2 separate regions of the Homo sapiens genome follow, and region 2 is linked to region 1. Evidence: promoter capture Hi-C in human tissues and cell types (Jung and others, 2019). All regions are on one chromosome and are shown on one strand. The core of a region is centred on a gene start or on the middle of the fragment in contact, and the rest is flanking DNA. Distances in the headings are between cores, read along the strand shown. Region 1 overlaps WBP1L (WW domain binding protein 1 like). Region 2 holds the start of NT5C2 (5'-nucleotidase, cytosolic II).

Region 1 (5,163 bases), core at 926-3,425:
CTGGGTAGGTAACTAAAAATTATTCTGCTATAAAACCCTGGCTATACAACAATCACTTTTAATTACAAAGCTGAACTTGCAAGAAAGCAAGGAGGATCACCTGGGACCAAAAACGACAGCGGGAACTAGAAACCACAGTAGTAAATGAGATCAGGCCTTTCCAGTTGACCTAGAAAGTGGGGTAGTTTGTTGATCTTGGGCCCACCTGAAACAGGGAATTGGAACTGAGAACCAGTACAAAGCTGGCGCCCTCAGAGGGGGAGAACAGATTAGAAAAAACATTAGCCCACTGGCACATAGTGACAATAAAAACTCTGAAGTGGGAGGAAAACAGTATCTCCTCTAATAATGTGTGATCACAGATTATTTCAGATTTGAATTGTACTACTACATGGTCTGAGGATCCCCAAGCCAAAAATTTAACACAAAAAGTAGTCCCAGGCTGGCAATAAACCTGCAACATCTGGCAGAAATACAAAACTGAACAGATCTACCCTCAGCCACGGCACAAAGGATTCCTACACATAAAGTTCTGTTGGCCAGGCGCGGTGGCTCACGCTTGTAATTCCAGGACTTTGGGAGGCTGAGGCGGGCGGATGACGAGGTCAGGAATTCGAGACCAGCCTGGCCAACATAGTGAAATCCTGTCTCTAATAAAAATACAAAAAAATTAGCTGGGCGTGGTGGCGGGCGCCTGTAATCCCAGCTACTCCGGACGCTGAGGCAGGAGAATTGCTTGAACCCGGGAGGCAGAGGTTGCAGTGAGCCGAGATTGCACCATTGTACTCCAGCCTGGGCGACAGTGAGAGACTGTCTCAAAAATAAAAATAAAAATAAAGTTCTGTTGAAGATAAGCTCACAATCCAAAATATAAAAATGTATGCAAAACTAATCCATTACAAACAAGATGACAAATTCAACAAATAGCAGGATAAGACCCCCTGAAAAAAAGTCCCTATAAGATACAAGCATATCTCAAATGATTAAAGCCAAAAAGAAAGAATTAAAAACACAAGAAAAGAACACTACCAAACAAGAAATAGTAACAGGCAGATAAAACTTGTAGAAAAATAGTTATTGAAAGAAAAAACTCAACAGATGGGTCACACAGAGAGGAGACCAAGTTAAAGAGGAAATTGATGAACTAGAGAACAGATCTGAGAAAATTACCATCAAAGTGCTTCTACAAGAGAAAACATGGAAATGAAAAATGAGAAAGAAGCTTGAGAAGAAAAGAATGGAGGAGAGGAAATATTTAAAGGGATAACTAAAAATTTTCTATATAAGACTGATTAAAGATACAAAATTTCGGCCGGGCGTGGTGGCTCATGCCTATAATCCCAGCACTTTGGGAGGCCAAGTTGGGCAGATCATGAGGTCAGGAGATCGAGACCATCCTGGCTAACACTGTGAAACCCCATCTCTACTAAAAATACAATTAGCTGGGCGTGGTGGCGGGCGCCTGTAGTCCCAGCTACTCGGGAGGCTGAGGCAGGAAAATCGCTTGAACCTGAGAGGCGGGGGTTGCAGTGAGCCGAGATCATGCCACTGCACTCCAGCCTGGGTGACAGAGTGAGACTGTCAAAAAAAAAAAAAAAAAGATACAAAATTTCCAGATAATAAGAAGCCCACACCTAGGTACACTGTATGAAACTGCAGAGTGACAAAGGCAAAAAGATTTTTAAATATGTTCCAGTTGGGAAGACGGACAATTAACAAGCAAAATTATAATTTCACTAGCAGTAATAAGCTCCATGAGGATAATAAAACACGATAATGAGACAAAGAGTTTTAGATAGGGTGGTCAGGAAAGGCCACTCTGAGTAGGTGACATCTGAGTAGAGCCCTGACTGCTGAAAAAGAGCCAGCTTAACCAGACCGGTGAGAACAGTGTTCCAGGAAGAAGAAATATCAAATCCACGCAAAAACACCAGGGCAGAAACAAGCTTGGTGTGCTCAAGGAAGAGAAAGAAGACTAGTGTAGCTGAGTACAGTGATCTCAGGGAAAGCAGTGTGAAAGGGGAGCTAAGAATTCAGCTGAGGTCAGATCTCATAGGCTTTGTATAACAATTAAAATAATCTCCAGGCTGGGTGCAGTGGCTCATGCCTGTAATCCCAGCACTTTGGGAGGCTGAGGCAGGTGGATCACCTGAGGTTACGAATTCGAGACCAGCCTGGCCAACATGGCGAAAACCCATCGCTATTAAAAATATTTAAAAAATTAGCCATGCGTGGTTGTGCGCACCTGTAGTCCCAGCTACTCAGGAGGCTGAGGCACAAGAATCACTTGAACCCAGGCGGTGGAGGTTGCAGCAAACCGAGATTGTGCCACTGCACTCCAGCCTGAGCAACAGAGCAAGACTCCGTCTCAGTAAAAAATAAATAATAAAATAAAATAAAATAATCTCCAAAGTACCACAGTTTATGAATTCATTGTTGGCTTTGGCTAGTCCCTCCCTTAGGTTATGGTGGAGACTTGAATAAATATATAAATATTTTTGCAACTCTCATACTTATTCTTTACCTTGAGCCTTTATTTATCCCCCCCAGCCAGGTTGTGGCTGCTCTTGCAGAGTAAGCAACAAAACAAACTTTCCTTCCATTCTTGAACCAGGAATGGCTTTCTAGAAAGGAGACCAAAGTCTAGCACTGCATATCTACTAGGAAAAAGTTCTAAATGATTTTGGTAATGCTCTGTAGCTAAAGGATAACGCAGTTTTCATAAAGCAGACATTTGAAATGGCTAAATAAGACAGCAAACAACTTTAACTTAGAATCAGCTATTTTTGTTCTATCCTAGATAGAATCTTCAAGTTCTGAAAATGCAGCACTTTCAAGCCCAGGTCCTTAGAAACATATTTGTAGGTGGTAAGGAGGCAAAGCTTCATGTATTCACCTATATTTTTACCTATATTTTTACAATTAGAAAGTTAAGATCAGCCAGGTGTGGTGGCTCATGCCTGTAATCCCAGCACTTTGGGAGGCCGAAACAGGCGGATCATGAGATCAGGAGATCAAGACCATCCTGGCTAACACTGTGAAACCCCGTCTCTACTAAAAAATGCAAAAAATTAGCCGGGCGTGGTAGCTACTCGGGAGGCTGAGGCAGGAGAATGGCATGAACCCAGGAGGCAGAGGTTGCAGTGAGCCGAGATCGCACCACTGCACTCCAGCCTGGGTGACAGAGTGAGACTGTCTCAAAAAAAAAAAAAGAAAGAAAGAAAGTTAAGATCACGTTCTCCCTGATAGTATTGGTTTTGTTTTTTTTTTCCTGAGGCAGGGTCTCTGTCACTCAGGCTAGAGTACAGTGGCACGATCTCGGCTCACTGCAACCACCACCTCCCAGGTTCCAGTGATTCTCCTGCCTCAGCCTCCCGAGTAGCTGGGACATCAGGCGTGCACCACCACGCCCAGCTAATTTTTTGTATTATTAATAGAGACAGGGTTTCACCATATTGGCCAGGCTGGTCTCGCACGCCTGACCTCAGGTGATCCGCCCACCTCGGCCTCCCAAAGTGCTGGGATTACAGGCGTGAGCCACCGTGCCTGACCACTATTGGTTTTTTAGACTGTTCAAAGACCTGAGGGAAATAAAGAGAACTGTTCAAGGGCACACATTTTCAAATTGGGTAGAAGGAGAGTACAGAAGGGCTGAGGATGAAGAAAGTAAGCTCAAGAAGGGGGATGATGCAGCAGGAGTCCTGGCCTATTGCTTCCCATGTGTTAGTCTAGTCTCCCCTCTCTTTTTTTTCCCCCTCTGGAAACAGGGTCTCACTCTGTCACCAAGGCTAGAGTGTAGTGGCACGATCATAGCTCACTGCAGCCTCAACTTCCCAGGCTCAAGCAATCCTCCCACCTCAGCCTCCCAATTAGCTAGGACCACAGGCATACGCCACCACACCCAGCTAATTTTTTTTATTGGTTGTAGAGACAGGATCTCACTACGTTGCTCAGGCTGGTCTCAAACTCTGGGCTCAAGTGATTCTCCTGCCTCAGCCTCCAACAGTGCTGGGATTTCAGTCGGGAGCCACTGTGCCCAGTCTAATCTCCCTTTCTTTGATGGTGGGGTTGTCATGTACTACTTTCGTATCCTTTCTAGTATATACCACACCTGACAATTATTCCATAAGCTTTGGCTAAAAGAGCTTACTCAATTCCATCCTTCCCCATAAAGGGCAAGCCACTGCTAAGAAGTTAACCAAGACTTTGTCTTGCATGCAATGGGACACTAGGAATGGATTTTTATGCTGTTTGGCTGAATTCAGTAGTTTTCCAAAAGAACAAATAGCCTGGGCTACATGGGTAGGTTCCCCTAACCAAGCCAGTAAATCTTCTGATAAGGTTCAGCCTCATCCCTCAGATCTGATAGTGTGGTTTACTCCTTAAGGGCTCTGGACTCCAGCTCCCTGGGCTTAAGAGGACCCAGTCCCCCATGCTTTAGCTATAGAGTACCCTAAAGAGTAAAGCCAAAGACTGGAGCTTGTGACCAATGTAAGAAAAGCCTAGGATCAAAAGAGATGGCTGCTGCTTCAAGATGAGCCCACAGTGTCATGGTCCCCAAAGGGGAGTCCCAGGGGTAGTAGTGGGGACAATAGAGGTCCACTGACTTCAACCCACAGGGCATCCTGGAACAATCTGGTCTGGTCCCTCCCAAAGACTAACACTAGTCAAGAATCTGAGGAAGGGCAACACAGTGAATCAGGACAATAAGGGCATCTTATAAATAAGTGAATTTGCCCCCACATAACAATGAACATGCTTAGACAACAAATGCAACAAAATAGGGATGTGTTTCCCAAAAGTGTGGTCCATGGGCCCCAGATCATCTGAAATATTTGTCAAGAATGTAGATAGACTGAGACCCTCTAGGGGCAGGGACTGAAAATCCGCCTTTTAAAACATGCTCCCCTGGTTATGTTTATGTATATTCAAGCTTGAGAACCACTGCCCTGGATCTAAAAAGAACATACAATAAACAGTTCCTGCTCTCTAAACATGAAATAGACTCATATTCGTTTTCTAGAATCCCAAACGTGTCCCAACACAGTTACCCACAAGAGTACCTACATAGAATCAAGGCACATTATTTATACTCTCTATGCCTCATTCCATTAAAACATATAATAGATCATACACATAAATTTTAAAAAGAAGTGACATGTT
Region 2 (5,034 bases), core at 862-3,361, 400 kb before region 1:
GGGCTGGGATTACAGGCGTGAGCCACCGCGCCCGGCCTCATTCTTTTTATTATTGATTTGTTAAGAGTCCTTTATAGACAAATCCTTTGTCTTTTGTGTATTGCGAATAGTTTTCCCCTTATTCTGTTATCTTTTAACTTTGTTTTCAGTTTTTTTCAAGTTATTCCATCTCTCTGATTTTTTAAATTCTTTTTTCTGATTTATTTTTTAAAACAAAGTTCTTGATTATAAAAGTAATACAAACACCGTAAGAAATTAATACAAAAGTACAAAGAAGAAACCACCCCATCTTATCACTGAGAGAAAACAACATAATCAATTACATATTTCCCTGTAGTCTTTTGCGTGTGCAGTTTTTTTTCACAGTTGTGATCACATTCATTTGTGTGTGTCTCTATATTTGTTTTTCTCTCAGTACCATAGTGTTTAGACACAAACCCTGGCCTTTTTTCGTTTCTTCTTTTTTTTTTTTTTTGGAGATGGAGTCTCCCTCTGTCGCCCAGGCTGGAGTTCAGTGGCGTGATCTTGGCTCACTGCAACCTCCGCCTTCCGGGTTCAAGCGATTCTCCTGCCTCAGCCTCCCGAGTAGCTGGGACTACAGGTGCGTGCCACCATGCCCAGCTAATTTTTGTATTTTTAGTAGAGATGGGGTTTCGCCATGTTGGTCAGGCTGGTCTTGAACTCCTGACCTCAAATGATCCACCTGCCTTGGCTTCCCAAAGTGATGGGATTACAGGTGTGAGCTACCACGCCCCGCCACCCTGGCCTTTTTTCAAATGCACTTGGTTTAAAGATTGTGTTATGCCAGCTTCCAACCCCTATTCCTCTTTTCCATATATCCTGAGAAATTTAGAAGGTGAGGGGCCCAAGGTCTATCCTTAGCTGACCTGAAGCGAAGTTGGCTGAGAAGCACAAGAAGGGGTAGAAGTGCTCTGGCGGAGCACTTATTAAAAAGACGCGGAGGTTTTGGTTGACTGCAAGCCCAATATGAGTCAACAGTATGGGTGCCAAGAACTTTATCGCAGGAGTGCAAAGCGATAGGTCCCAAAAGGAGGAAGCTATAGTCCTGCTTTGCTCTGATGATACCACAAACATTTGGTTCAGTCTTGGGTGATGTATTCTAAAGAAATCACAGTCAAATCTACCATTTGCGTGAGAGGGATAAAGACCCTCAAAACCAGGGCAGAGGAGGAACAATGGAAGGAACGGGAGACACTGATGTGGAATGAGAAGACCTTGGGCAGAGGTGATAGAAGTAAAGTATCTGAAAAGTCAAAGGTCCAGGAGAGATTAGACGTTTGTTCTCTGTGGCTCCAAGGCATCGAATTTCGGCCCTGAGAGTGGAAGTTTAGACACATTTTCTCACTGGTGAGAGCTGCTCGGACCAAGGAATTCAGTCCTCTGGAAATAGCTAGCTGCTTTTGCGGAGTCTTCCTGCTGAGTTGCTGGTGGTGGGGTGAACATTTATTGAGTGCTTACTGTGTGCCAGGATCCTGCTGAGGGCCTCACCTATATTGTGTGATTTCATCCCGTCAACACCCTTTGATGTGGGGACTGTTGTTCCCTATCCTGGTGCTACAAATGTGGGCACCAGGTATAGGAGGTCAGGTACCTCGCCCGAGGTTACAGTTTGTAAGTGGTGGTACTGGGACTGGAACTCGTTCTGACAAACTTCAAAGCTGGTGTTTTTAGCCATCAAGGGGATTCGAGGGTGCCATGGGGGTGTGGACGCATGAGGGGCCTTGAGGTCCATTAGACCAAAACATTCTGTGACTGGGAAAAAGGATGCCCTCTCCTCCCAAGGAAAAGCTTCTTCTGAATGAGACACAGTGGAGAGGTTAGCCCAGGGCCAGGCTGAGGGGCGCAGGCAGAATGCCAAGGGATGGAGACCCTCAGAAGGGCAAAGCCGGTGTTCCATCGTTTGAAGATCTCCAGACCCGCGGGACAGACAGACGCAGCGCGGTCAGGGAGCGTCGGCTTCGCCGAACTCTGCGGCGGAGCTGGGGGACGGAACAGCGCGCCGGTCCCTGGCCGGGCGCGAGCAGAGGGGCGGCGCGGGGCGGTGCCGGGCGGCGGGGGCGGGGAGGGCGCGCGTTGAGGCGGCTGCGGCAGTTGCGCGCTGGGATTGTTGCGGTGCGCTGGAGCCGGTGAGTGCGGCGGGCCCCGTGGGCGGGCGGGGAAGGAGCGGGCGAACGGGGAGCTAGGTGGGGAGGTGCGCGGCCGAACACGCGACCCCAGGGTAGCGGCCGCCGCCTGCCCCCGCCCCCGGCCCCCAGGGACCATGGCCCCAAGGCCCCTCTCCTTAGGCCGAGTCCCCGCCAGCGCGCTCGCGGACGCCGCACGCCTCCCAACTCCCTCGGTGCGGCCCCCGCCCCACGGCAGCCCCTTCCTCCGCGCCGCCGCGACGCCTCCGGCCCACGTCACGCTCGCGCCATTGTTTCCCAGCCGCCGGCTCGCTGGGACCCCGCCTCAGCCTCCCAGCGCGGCCGTTCGCCGCGTTCCGCCCTCTTCCCCCCTTTCCTCACGCTGGTGGTAGCCCTTTCCTCAGTCCTGCTGACGTCCTCCAGCTGATTCCAGGCTGTTCCCGGCCACCCCTGAGGCCGTCTTTTCGCTTCTTGTAAAAGCCTCCCCGCCCCCAGAGCTCCTCGGTCGCCTCCCGAGAAGCCAAGGGGCCTCTGGTGGAGCGCCAGGTTGACAGCGTTTTAGCAGGACCGCGAGAAACGGCCAGCTCGTTTGCCACACGCCCGTGTGCAACACTTCCTGGAAAGGTCACAGCGAATTGCAAGCCGCCACAAAAAACATCCGGACAGCTCCTGGTCAGGGGGCTGAGCCGTTCAGTGGCGGCCTATTCTTCTCCTTTTTTCGGGGCTCCTGAAATCGGAGAGGGCGAGATGCCGATCTGAGGCCTGAACCCTTAGTTTAAGAAAAACGTTTTGGGGGTTTGACTCCGGCAGGCCACAGCTTCTAAAAGCAGCAGGTAGAGGCTGCTGTCCGAATCGACGTTTTCCTGGGCTTTCACCTTTAGGGCCTTGATGTTTGAGGGGGGTCGTGCTCTGAAGTACAGCGCCCCGAAATGACTAGTCACCATTACAGGGGGGTGTGTGCGCGCCCGTCCAGGGGCCGATGAGTTCTTCAGGATTGAGCTGTACTTGGTTCCCAGTGTCTGTAGACTATTCATTTCGCCTCTTCAAGCAACGAATGCAAACTACTGACCATAATGTGAAAGGGAGAATATTGAAACTGTGTCATTTACCATGAAAACTTAGTGTTATTGCGTAGAGAAGGCTTTAGGTTTCAAAAATATTTACCACATGGCTTTTCAACAACGGTTAGAATTTATCCAGATGAAGACATCCAGGCCTGAAAGGGTGAAGTTCGAAAAGAGAAAAAAAATAGGTGTGAGCTGAGAGTGGAAAAAAAAAAAAGAACAAAAAAGGTTAAGTTCAAGAAAACATAGCTGGTTAGTAATTAAAATAAAAACTCCACATGCAGGGTTGATACTAGCATACACAGACTTATTTCTGAAGTGCATTTCCATTGCAGTGTAAACCACTACATTTCAACAGTATAGGTAGCTGCATTACTCTCATTGACCCAGAATTAAGGTTTTAGGATTTAGTAACCAACAAATCTGTAAAATAAGGTGGAGGGGCGCGGGGTGGAGTGGGGGGGGTTCTGAAGGAGATGTTATGCAAGATTCCTTTCAGTTCAAAGGTTTGATGCCATTGTATGAAAATTTACCATCAGCTACAAGTTTTCAGAAGTTTGTAATTGTAAGAAGATTTATATAGATAGTATTCCCTTATAGTACCTGCCACCCTTAACCAGAAGACATCACATCTTCCTAAAGAAAGCCAGATTACAATAGAATGTTAGGCACAGAGGTGCTCATTAATCTTTCTCTAGGCTATTTCTCCTGTTTTATGGGGAAAGAGGAGTACATAAAACACAGGTTTTTTTTTTTAAGTATTTCCTCTCTCTCTCTTTTTTTTTTTTTTTTGAGACGGAGCTTTGCTCTTGTTGGCCAGGCTGGAGTGCAATGGCATGATCTTGGCTCATTGCAACCTCCACCTCCCGGGTTCAAGCAGTTCTCCTGCCTCGGCCTCCCGAGTAGCTGGGATTACAGGCATGCGCCACCACGCCTGGCTAATTTTGTAGAGACGGGGTTTCTCCAAGTTGGTCAGGCTGGTCTCGAACTCCTGACCTCAGGTGATCTGCCCGCCTCGGCCTCCCAAGTACTGGGATTACAGGCTTGAGCCACTGCGTCCGACCCTGTTGCTTAATTCTCTTACCAAAAGCTTAATTCAGTGAAATAGTAAATAACAACAAATCCCCAAAAACAAAAACCCACAACTTTGTCATGTTATGACTGTGCTCTTTTAAAGTACTTACATAGACTGGTTTTTATCTAGTACACTTGCTGTGTACATATTATTTGGGATTTTGCTCTTACCAATATTTCTGGGATGTCCATGTATTTAGAGAATTCATCTAATCTTCATTAGTAGATGCTCTCTAATGTGCCCCGGTAGTCAACAATGCCTGGCACACAGGCTCTTAGTAAATTTTTGTTGAATAAGTGTTGTAATGTTTTGAGGTTTTTAGACATTTAACACAAAATACTAACTATCACAAGGCATATGTTGAGTGACGTGAGCAGTAAAGGCAGTCATACTTTCAGCCAGGAGACATTGCATTTATTTAAGGGCCCGGATTTTGTAGTCTGGCTTGCTACTTAACATCATGCAACCTCGGGGAACTCAGTTAACCTTAGACAAGCTCACTCAGTTTCTCTCACCTTGAGAAGGGAAAAATAGAACAAATTTTACAGAGTTATGTGGATTAAATAGAATAATTCAGTTGAAGTGATACTGGCACACATTAAGTTCTCTATAAATGTTAGTTTTTTTTGCTCAGAGTGAAGGAATATTAATGTAGCTTGGTGGGATCAGGAAAAACAGTAACACTTCAGAGTAGGGAGAAGATGCTGAAGTGGATGTATTGAGGGTATGATTAATAGATTGTTCTCACTAA

What was found. The method cuts DNA at HindIII sites, captures the fragments that hold promoters and counts their contacts. A contact is called where the count stands out against the background at its distance.
Region 2: a contact is called between the fragment with the promoter of NT5C2 here and a fragment that was not itself captured in region 1, in 2 of the 25 tissues and cell types used here (dorsolateral prefrontal cortex and hippocampus).

Annotation. Positions count from the first base shown.
Region 1 is chr10:102,786,185-102,791,347 of GRCh38, reverse strand. All of the region lies in intron 1 of WBP1L (WW domain binding protein 1 like), which reads right to left. Among named protein-coding and RNA genes, the nearest start is that of CYP17A1-AS1, 44 kb to the left of the region's middle. The HindIII fragment of the contact is 4,714 bases long and covers 1-4,532 here.
Region 2 is chr10:103,190,349-103,195,382 of GRCh38, reverse strand. NT5C2 (5'-nucleotidase, cytosolic II) reads left to right here and starts at 2,111. Exons shown (of 19, transcript NM_001351169.2): 1 at 2,111-2,147. RefSeq lists a silencer at 2,017-2,296 and enhancers at 1,995-2,681, 2,682-3,370. The HindIII fragment of the contact is 10,406 bases long and covers 1-5,034 here.